Regions from separate parts of the Homo sapiens genome. Here region 1 is linked to region 2. The links are contacts of gene promoters, found by promoter capture Hi-C in blood cells and fetal thymus (Javierre and others, 2016). All regions are on one chromosome and are shown on one strand. The core of a region is centred on a gene start or on the middle of the fragment in contact, and the rest is flanking DNA. Distances in the headings are between cores, read along the strand shown. Region 1 has its middle 5.9 kb from the start of ITGAM. Region 2 holds the start of STX1B (syntaxin 1B).

What was found. Contacts are between HindIII fragments. The CHiCAGO score rates a contact against its expected background, and 5 or more counts as called.
Region 1: a contact is called between a fragment that was not itself captured here and the fragment with the promoter of STX1B in region 2, in 1 of 17 cell types (neutrophils). The highest score is 6.8, in neutrophils.

Annotation. Positions count from the first base shown.
Region 1 is chr16:31,251,682-31,256,409 of GRCh38, reverse strand. No RefSeq gene overlaps it. Among named protein-coding and RNA genes, the nearest start is that of ITGAM, 5.9 kb to the left of the region's middle. The HindIII fragment of the contact is 7,238 bases long and covers 1-4,728 here.
Region 2 is chr16:31,008,918-31,013,406 of GRCh38, reverse strand. STX1B (syntaxin 1B) reads left to right here and starts at 2,769. Exons shown (of 10, transcript NM_052874.5): 1 at 2,769-3,040. The coding sequence starts at 3,011. RefSeq lists an enhancer at 2,232-2,733. The HindIII fragment of the contact is 27,284 bases long and covers 1-4,489 here.

The DNA of each region.
Region 1 (4,728 bases), core at 504-3,003, 240 kb before region 2:
AATATTCTTTTCTATATCATTTGTACTTAAAATATTTATATAGGCTGGGTGCAGTGGCTCATGCCTGTGATCCCAATGCTGTGGGAGGCCAAGGCAAGAGGATCACTTGAGCCCAGGAGTTTGAGGCTACAGTGAGCTATGACCTCAACACTGCACTCCAGCCTGGGCAACAGAGCAAGACCATGTCTCAAAGAGAAAAAAAAAAAAGACCTTTATACAAAAAAAAGACTCATAATCATAAAAAATACCAATAGATAATTTAAAACAACAGGTTACCTGTATTTGTTAGCAGGTAAAGAAGCTGAGGAAAGGACGAACGAAGTCATGAGCCCAAGATGAGAAGATACCAACCAGGGTGCCCGGGGAGGAGTTTAGTAGATCAGCTGGGTTTGCTTTGGGAAAAGTTTTCACACTCTGGCCACTATGGGGGCTGCTCGAACTCAGACGTGGAGGCCCCTCCTTGCCCTGAACAGTGGCCAAGGGTCCACTCTCTGTAAAAACATAGGCAAGATCTCAGACTGGCTGTCCAACCTGCAGAGGCTTTCTCAATGAGCCACCACCAAGTGTGCACCTGACCTGGTGACCGTGGGTGGGGACATATCTATAAGCTGTTGGCTGTTCCCTCCTACCTGTCCCCCATCCCCACTCTTGATAAAATCTTAGCTTGATTTCCCCTATAAGTGGACTCTGAGACAAGGCTTCAAGTGTAAGTAATTTATCTGGAAGGTGATTCCGGAAACACTGGTGGGAAAGTGAGGAAAAGAAGGAGCTAATGCCAGGCACAATGGCTCACTGCCTGTAATACCAGCACTTTGGGAGTCCAGAGTGGGAGGATCGCTTGAGCCCAGGAGTTCAAGACCAACCTGGGCAACATAGGAAGATTCTGTCTCTTAAAAAAAATTTTTTTTTAATTATCTAGTGTGGTGGTATGCACATGTAGTCCCAGCTACTCAGGAAGCTGAGGCAGGAGGATCACTTGCACCCAAGGGGTCGAGGTTGCAGTGAGCTATGATCATGCCACCATACACTGTACTCTAGCCTGGGCAACATAATAAGACCCCGTCTCTTAAATTTTTTTAATTAAATAAATAATTAATTAATTAAACATTAATATGTATCAAACAGGTGTGGGAAATCAAACTATCTCCCTGAAAACGCACTTCGCAAAATGTCCCTTGGACATTTTGAGCCCAAGTGTTGGAGGCTGCAGTGAGCCATGATCACACTACTGCACTCCAGCCTGGGCAACAGAGTGAGACCTTGTCTCAAAAAAAAAAAGAAGGAAGAAAGAAAGAGCTTATAAAAGATATGTAATTAAACAAATTACTGGCCGGGCATGATGGCTCACGTTTGTAATCCCAGCACTTTGGGAGGCTGATGTGGGTGGATCACCTGAGATCAGGAGTTCGAGACCAGCCTGGCCAACATGGCAAAACCCGTCTCTGCTAAAAATACAAAAATTAGCCAGACATGGTGGCATGCGCCTGTAGTCCCAGCTACTCGGGTGGCTGAGACAGGAGAATGCTAGGAACCCGGGAGGTGGAGGTTGCAGTGAGCCGAGATCATGCCACTGCACTCCAGCCTGGGCAACAGAGCAAGACTTCATCCTCAAAAAAAAAAAAAAAAAAAAAAAAAAAAAAGATTATTGACCTGGTGCAGTGGCTCACGCCTGTAATCCTAGCACTTTGGGAGGCTGAAGTGGGTGGATCACTTGAGGCCAGGAGTTTGAGACCAGCCTGGCCAACATGGTGAAATCCCATCTCTACAAAAAATACAAAAATTAGCTGGGCATCATGGTGCATGCCTGTAATCCCAGCTGCTCGGGAGGCTGAGGCATGAGAATTGCTTGTACCCGGGAGGCAGAGGTTTCAGTGAACTGAGATTGTGCCACCACACTCCAGCCTGGGCAACAGAGCAACACTCCATCTCAAAAAAAAAAAAAAAAAAAAAAAAAAAAAGAATAGAGAGATATGTCATCTTCATGGATGACAAGACTACAAGACTACAGATGTCAGTACAGATGTCGGTTCTCCATTTAATTACTCAAATTCATTATAATCTCACCCAGCAGAATTTTTCTAGAATTTGACGTGCTGATTCAAAAATTGACTGGACTAGAAAACACACAGCAATAGCCTATAAAGCAATGGGACATACCTTACAATGTCATGTTATTCCATAACAAGTACCCTATCAAAGCAATATTCTAAAGCCACAGTAGGTAAAAGTACAGTGTTGGCTCTGGAATAAGTATATAAGACCCTCGGAAAGAATACAAAATACGTATGTAGAAATCTGGTGTTCCCATCAGAAACAATACATTTCTCCTACTGAAAAAGCAAACAAGACTTTCTTTGATTCCACTCCCCTCATCAACCACTGCCCATTTTTTACTTCCCTTTTGCAAAACTTCTCCAAAGTAGTTGTCTGTGTTGGCTGCACCCTGTTCTACTGCTCACATCCTCCCTTAACCCCATTCCAACCAAGCCTGTGCTCCAACCCGGCACCTACTCCACCTAAACTATTTTTATCAAGGTCACCAAGGCTGCCTGAGTGACTCCAGTGATGAGTTCTGTCTTCATCTTGAGTGACTCAGCAGCAGCTTCTGACACTCGGCCCTCGCTTCCTGGAACTGATTTCTACATCTGTCCTCTGACCCCACACTCTCCTGCTTCCCGCCTACCGCCCATGACCCTCCTTCTCAGTTTCTCTTGCTGATTCTCCTCTTCTCCCAACCTCTTCAGAAGGATCTCAGAGCTCAGTCCTTTGACTGCCTTTTTTCTTTTTTCCAACTCCTGGGTTCAAATGATCCTCCCACCTCAGCCTCCTAAATAGCTGGTACTACAGGCATGCGCCCCCATGTCCAGGTAATTTTTCAATCTTTTTGTAGAGACGGGGTCTCACTAAGTTGCCTAGGCTGGTCTCAAACTCCTAGCCTCAAGCCATCCTCCCACCTCAGCCTCCCAAAGTGCTGGCATTACATGCGTGAGCCACCGTGCCCAGCCGAAGTCAATTTTCAGTACAGCAGTCAGAGGGATTGTTTCAAAACACAAGACATATCATGCCACTCCTCTGCTCAAAACCTTGCAAAGGCTCCCACGTTACTGATAGTAAAAGCCAGTCCTTTCTACAACCTACAAGGACCTGCATGACCTGTCATCCCAACCCCAGCCCTTACCTCTCTGAGCTTACCTCATTTTCTGGGACAGCAGCCACCCTGGCCTCCTTGCCATTCCTCAAACCTGCCAGGCACACCACCACCTGAAGGCCATGGCACTGGCTGTTCCCTCTGATGGAACCAATCTTCCCCCAGGGATCGGCAGGCTCACTGGCCCACCTCCTTCAAACAAGTGGGTTTTGCATCACATGACTCTCTATACTCAACTTCGCAAACCTTCTTTGCCACATTCCTCAACATTTTCCAGTTTTGCTCTCAGGGGAATGAAGGTATCAGGTCTTCATCGTCCCTTTTCCTGCACAGCACCCAGGGTCACGGCTTCTCTCTTCCCAACAAAATCTCCCAGTCCCACCTCTCCAAATTTCCTTCCTTGTCTACACAGACAAATTATCTCCGTCTGAGCTCCTCCAATTTGCTTCGCTCACCACACTCGAAGAAACTTGCTACAGGATCCGCCCTCCTGAGAAAGTTGTGGGAAGAACAAGAATAAAATACTGTTTTTCCATTGCACTGGATTGTCAAGAAAAGTTCCTGTGATCCTGTCAGGCCTCTGAGCCCAAGCTAAGCCATCATATCCCCTGTGACCTGCATGTATACATCCAGATGGCTTGAAGCAACTGAAGATCCACAAAAGAAGTGAAAATAGCCTTAACTGATGACATTCCACCATTGTGATTTGTTTCTGTCCCACCCTAACTGATCAATGTACTTTGTAATCTCCCCCACCCTTAAGAAGGTACTTTGTAATCTCCCCGACCCTTAAGAAGGTTCTTTGTAATTCTCCCCACCCTTGAGAATGTACTTTGTGAGATCCACCCCTGCCCGCAAAACATGGCTTTTCACCCCCTATCCCAAAACCTGTAGGAACTAATGATAATCCACCACCCTTTGCTGACTCTCTTTTCGGACTCAGCCCGCCTGCACCCAGGTGAAATAAACAGCCTTGTTGCTCACACGAAGCCCGTTTGGTGGTCTCTTCACATGGACACGTGAGACAACCCCAGCTACCCAGGAGGCTGAGGTGGGAGAATCACTTGAGCCCAGGAGATTGAGGCTGCAGTGAGCTGATTGCACCACCGCACTCCAGCTTGGGCAACACAGCGAGACCCTGTCTTAAAAAAAAAAAAAAGTAAGAAAAAAAAGTTCCACCTGAGTGTCATCCTCAGCCATCTGGTTAAGCCTTTGGGTCTGGAATCAGACTAAGGGCACTAAAATCCTAGGTCTACGCCGGGTGTGGTGGCTCACACCTGTAATCCCAGCACTTTGGGAGGCTGAGGCAGGTGGATCACCTGAAGTCAGAAGTTTGAAACCAGCCTGGACAATATAGCGAAACCCTGTCTCTACCAAAAATACAAAAATTAGCCGGGAATGGTGGCACATGCCTGTAATCCCAGCTACTCAGGAGGCTGAGGCAAGAAAATCACTTGAACCCAGGAGGCGGAGATTGCAATGAGCCAAGATCACACCACTGCCCTCCAGCCTGGGCAACAGAGCAAGATCTCATCTCAGAAAAAAAAAAAAAAAGAATAAAAATATCCTAGGTCTATAAG
Region 2 (4,489 bases), core at 1,520-4,019:
GAAGAAGAAGAAGAAAAGAAGAAGAAGAAGAAGAAGAAGAAGAAGAAGAAGAAAGAAGAGGAAGAGGAAGAGGAAGAGGAAGAGGAAGAAGAAGAAGAAGAAGAAGAAGAAGAAGAAGAAGAAGAAGAAGAAGAAGAAGAAGAAGAAAGAAGAAAAGAAGAATGGGCTTTGCAATCAAAAGATACAAACAAGGTCAGACACAGTGGCTTATGCCTATAATACCAGCACTTGGGAAGCCGAGGTGAGAGCCCAGGAGGCTAGGACCAATCTCGTCTCTGCAAAAAAAAGAAAAAAAGAAAGTTAAATTAGGGCCAGGCACAGTGGCTCACACCTGCAGTCCCAGCACTTTGGGAAGCCAAGGCGGGTGGATCATTTGAGGTCAGGAGTTCCAGACCAGCCTGGCCAACATGGCGAAACCCTGTCTCTACTAAAAATATAAAAATTAGCCAGGCATGGTGGCAGGCACCTGTAATCACAGCTACTTGGGAGGTTGAGGCAGGAGAATCACTTGAACCCAGGAGGCGGAGATTGCAGTGAGCCAAGATCGCGCCATTGCACTCCAGCCTGGGTGACAGAGCGAGACTCTCTCTCAAAAAAAGAAAGAAAGAAAGAAAGAAAATTAGCTGGACACAGTGGTGTACACCTGTAGTCCCAGCTACTCAGGAGGCTGAGATGGGAGGATTGCTTGAGCCCAGGAGGTCAAGGCTGCTGTGAGGTGTGATTGCACCACTGCACTCCAGCCTGGGGAACAGAGTGAGACCCTGTCTCTGGAAAAAAAAAAAAAAAAGCAAACAAGACCCCAGCCCTGCCCTTTATTAACCTTGTGAACTTGGATATGTTATGTGACCATGCAAAGCCTCAGTGTCCTTGTCTATACACTTGGGATCTTAGCAGTGGCTACTGTGAGGTTGGGAGGTTTCTGGGAGCTACCAGCATAGTGAATGCAACACGTTGGATGCCCAGAACGTGCTGGCATTATAATGGCGGGGAGGCAAGGACAGCTTTCTGTGCTTTGAGTGGCTGGGTGGATGGAGATGACGCCATCTCTGAGGGAGAACACAGGAAGGAACACTTTGGGGACAGCCACCTCCTTGAGGTCCCCACGTCAGCGCTAGCCATGCCCACTGTAGTCATGGATCTACTCATGGCTCTGGTGGCATCTTCAATCTCTGTCTTCTTGGTGCCCAGCTCAGAGCTTAGGCATATAGTAGGGGCTGTCTTACAGGGGGAGGATCTGGCTCGCAGGTACAGATGTGGGCACTGCAGACACGGAGGTGCAGAAAGATGCAGGTAAAGAAGGAAGAGAATGCCAGGCATGGTGGCCCAGGCCTGTAATCTCAGCACTTTGGGAGGCTGAGGCAGGAGGATCGCTTGACCCTAGGAGTTCAAAACCAGCCTGGACAACATAGTGAGACCCTGTCTCTACAAAAAATAAAATTAGCCAGGTGTGGTGGCGCGTGCCTGTAGTCCCAGCTACTCAGGAGGCTGAGGTGGGAGGATCACTTGAGCCTGGGACGTTGAGGCTGCAGTGAGCCGAGATTGCACCACTGTACTCTAGCCTGGGCAACAGAATGAGACCCTAACTCAAAAAAAAAAAAAAAGAGAGAATGGACGGAGCCCAGGGAACCCTGAGGTTGAAGGGCTGTGGGAAAAAAGGTAAGGACCTGGAAAGAGGCTGGGAGACAACACTCACAGATCAGGTTGGGGGGTAGGTGGGCGGAGCACCACAGACAGGAGGGTTTCAGGAAGAGGGGCTCATCAGGGTCACATGCTGCTGAGAGGTCAGGGATGGTAAGGCCCGACTGGCGGTGTGGGATGAGGGTTTATCAGACACAGATTTGGCACCAAGGAGGTCACTGGGTACCTGGCAAGAGAATGCCGGGTGCGGTGGCCCAGGCATGGAATCCCAGCACTTTGGGAGGCTGAGGCAGGAGGATCGATTGAGAGTCAAGACCTGTCCCATTGGGGACCGGCGCCCCATTGCAGGGGGTGGGAGGAGCTGGTGTGGTGTAAGGATGGGGAGAGGAGAGGTGGGCATCAGAACAGGAGGTCACTCAGACCCTCAGGGGCACCTGATTTCCCCTCCCACTAAGGACAAATTTCATGTTCAACAGTCAGAGCCATCTGCAGATGGGCCAAGAGGTCCTGGGAGGTAGTGAGCACCCTGTCCCTGGAGGCAGACAAGCAGAGCTCCGAGACCCACCGCGGCGGGAGAGGCCCAGGCTGTGCAACACAAGCCCCGTGTCCTTCTCAGCAAGCACCTGGCTGGTTCCCTGCATCGTAAAAACCACACAGAGGGTCGGTCTTTCTATTTATAGTGTCCAAAGAGCCTCCTGCAAGAACACACATGGGCTCGCACCCAGAGGTGGTCGGCGCGCAGCCTCACGCAGACACCAGACACAAAACACAGCCGCGATCTGTGTCTCCTGGAAAGGGATCCACATCCTGGCTCCCAGGTTATTCCCTGAATTCATTCCGTCACCCCCTCTTTCCGCCGGGCCACCCCACCCCCCGGGCCACCCTAGCATCTCCGCTTGGCTCTCCGCATCTCTCCCTGCTCCTCGGGCTCTGCCCACCCCCACCCGCCTCCAGGCCTCTCCCGCCCCCTCCTCGGGTGTCCCCCAAGCCCGTGACTACAACCCCCAGGCGCCCCCGGCCCGGGTGCTGCGCATGCCCCCTGCTCCTTGCGCGCTCCCGCTCCCCCCGCCCTCGCTTCCTCCTCACCTCCCTCCGCCCCCCTCCCCCGCGCTCGGCTCCCGCATCCCTCCATCCTACCCTGTGCCGCAGCCGCATCGCCACCGCAGCCCGGCAGAGCCGAGCCCGGCCCAGGCCCCTGCCCCTGCCCGGCCCTCGGCCAGTCGCCCCCGGCCCCGCCCCCGCCCGCAGGCCCCCCGCAGCGGCCGCGGCGCCCCCCGGCGCCCCCAGACCCCGGCCTCCGGCACAGAGGCGGGAGACCCGGAGCAGCAGCAGAGGCAGGAGGACTAGGAGGAGGAGGAGGAGCCGTCGCAGGATGAAGGATCGGACTCAAGAGCTGCGGAGTGTGAGCTTGGGGGTGGGGAGAATGGGGGGGCGGGACCCCAATATTGGGGGAGCGCGTGGGGATGGAGTGGGGGAGGTGCTGGGACGTGGGGGCGAAGGATGAGATCGGAGGTTGGTAGCCGGAGCACCCCAGTATCTTCAGGCGCCTGATGTCTCTCCAGTGAACCTGCATTTTGGGGACAGTGCCTGGAAGGGGTTGGAGGCCATGAAGACACAAGGGGGCAGGAGAGGTCTCAGGGGCCTCGAACACCCCGCATTCCCAGGAGGGCCCCGGGGTCTGGTCTGGGGATGGGAGAGAGTGGATATCAGGAGAAACCGGAGGAGACTGTCATCCCCTGGGCAGGTTTGCCAAAGAGAAGCATGGGGGCGGTGACTGGGCCAGGCTGAGAGTCTAGCAGGACCCAGATTCAGGGGATGCTACGGGGAAGGACACAGGTTGGGACTGAGATGCCAGCACCTGGCAGTGAATGAAGTGTGTGTGTGTGTGCACACGCGTGTGTCACTCCCTATAGGGAGGGGGCATCTCTCCGAGACAGGGAGGGAAGAGGTGGCCTCCGGAGAGAGCCAGAGGGCCAGGGCCTGAGACAGGGTGACCCAGAGGTGGGAGATGGGGATGCAGAGGAGAGGGCCATGGAACACGGGCCGTGCTCTGCTTGGGGGAACTGGGGCACCCCGGGCAGTCAAGGGCTGATGCAGGCCCCAGGTCTGCAGGCCTGAAGAGGCCCGGCTCCAAGAGTCTGGCCAGGCAGTCCCTGGTTTTGGGGGGACAGGGGAAGGACTGCAGTGGAGGCTGCTACCTGGAGGAACTGGGGAGTGGGGTTCGATGAGAATGGTTTCAGGGGCAGGGAGGACGCTGGGGTATTTGGAGAAATGACCTGGGGCCCGAGGAGGCAGCACTGACAGTCCGCACTGTGCTGGGCTGGTGGTGTTATGTTAATAAGGGTACCGGCCCCGGCTGAGCTGCCCAATGCACTGAGCCTTTACAGGGAACTGGTGGGTTGTTACCCCAGGGGTTATTACCCCACTTGACAGATGAGGAAACTGAGATTCAGGCGTGGGAAGGGACTTGTCCAAGGTCACCAAGCAAGTGGGTGGGGGGCAGACTGCAATCTGGGTTTCCTGTCTGCTAGGTTGACACAGGTCTCTGCTTTTCTGGCCTTTGAAACAGAAGTTTCAGCACTGGGGGTGAAGAGCTGTCCCCTGGATTTGGGGGTGGGGACCCAGGTTACAGACAGACGAGAAGAAGGTGTTTGGAGGCAAGTGACCGCTGTCTCTGGGGACAGACAGGTTGCCAAATGGGAAGCAAGGAGGAGCTGGTGGCTGAGGGAGGGAATTTTAAAGGTTTCTTTATTACATTTTTACTGAATATACACTCAGGCATGAGGAAAGTGACAGTAATAATAAACATTGTTTGAAGTGTTTTATGCATATTCACTCATTTTGATCCTCA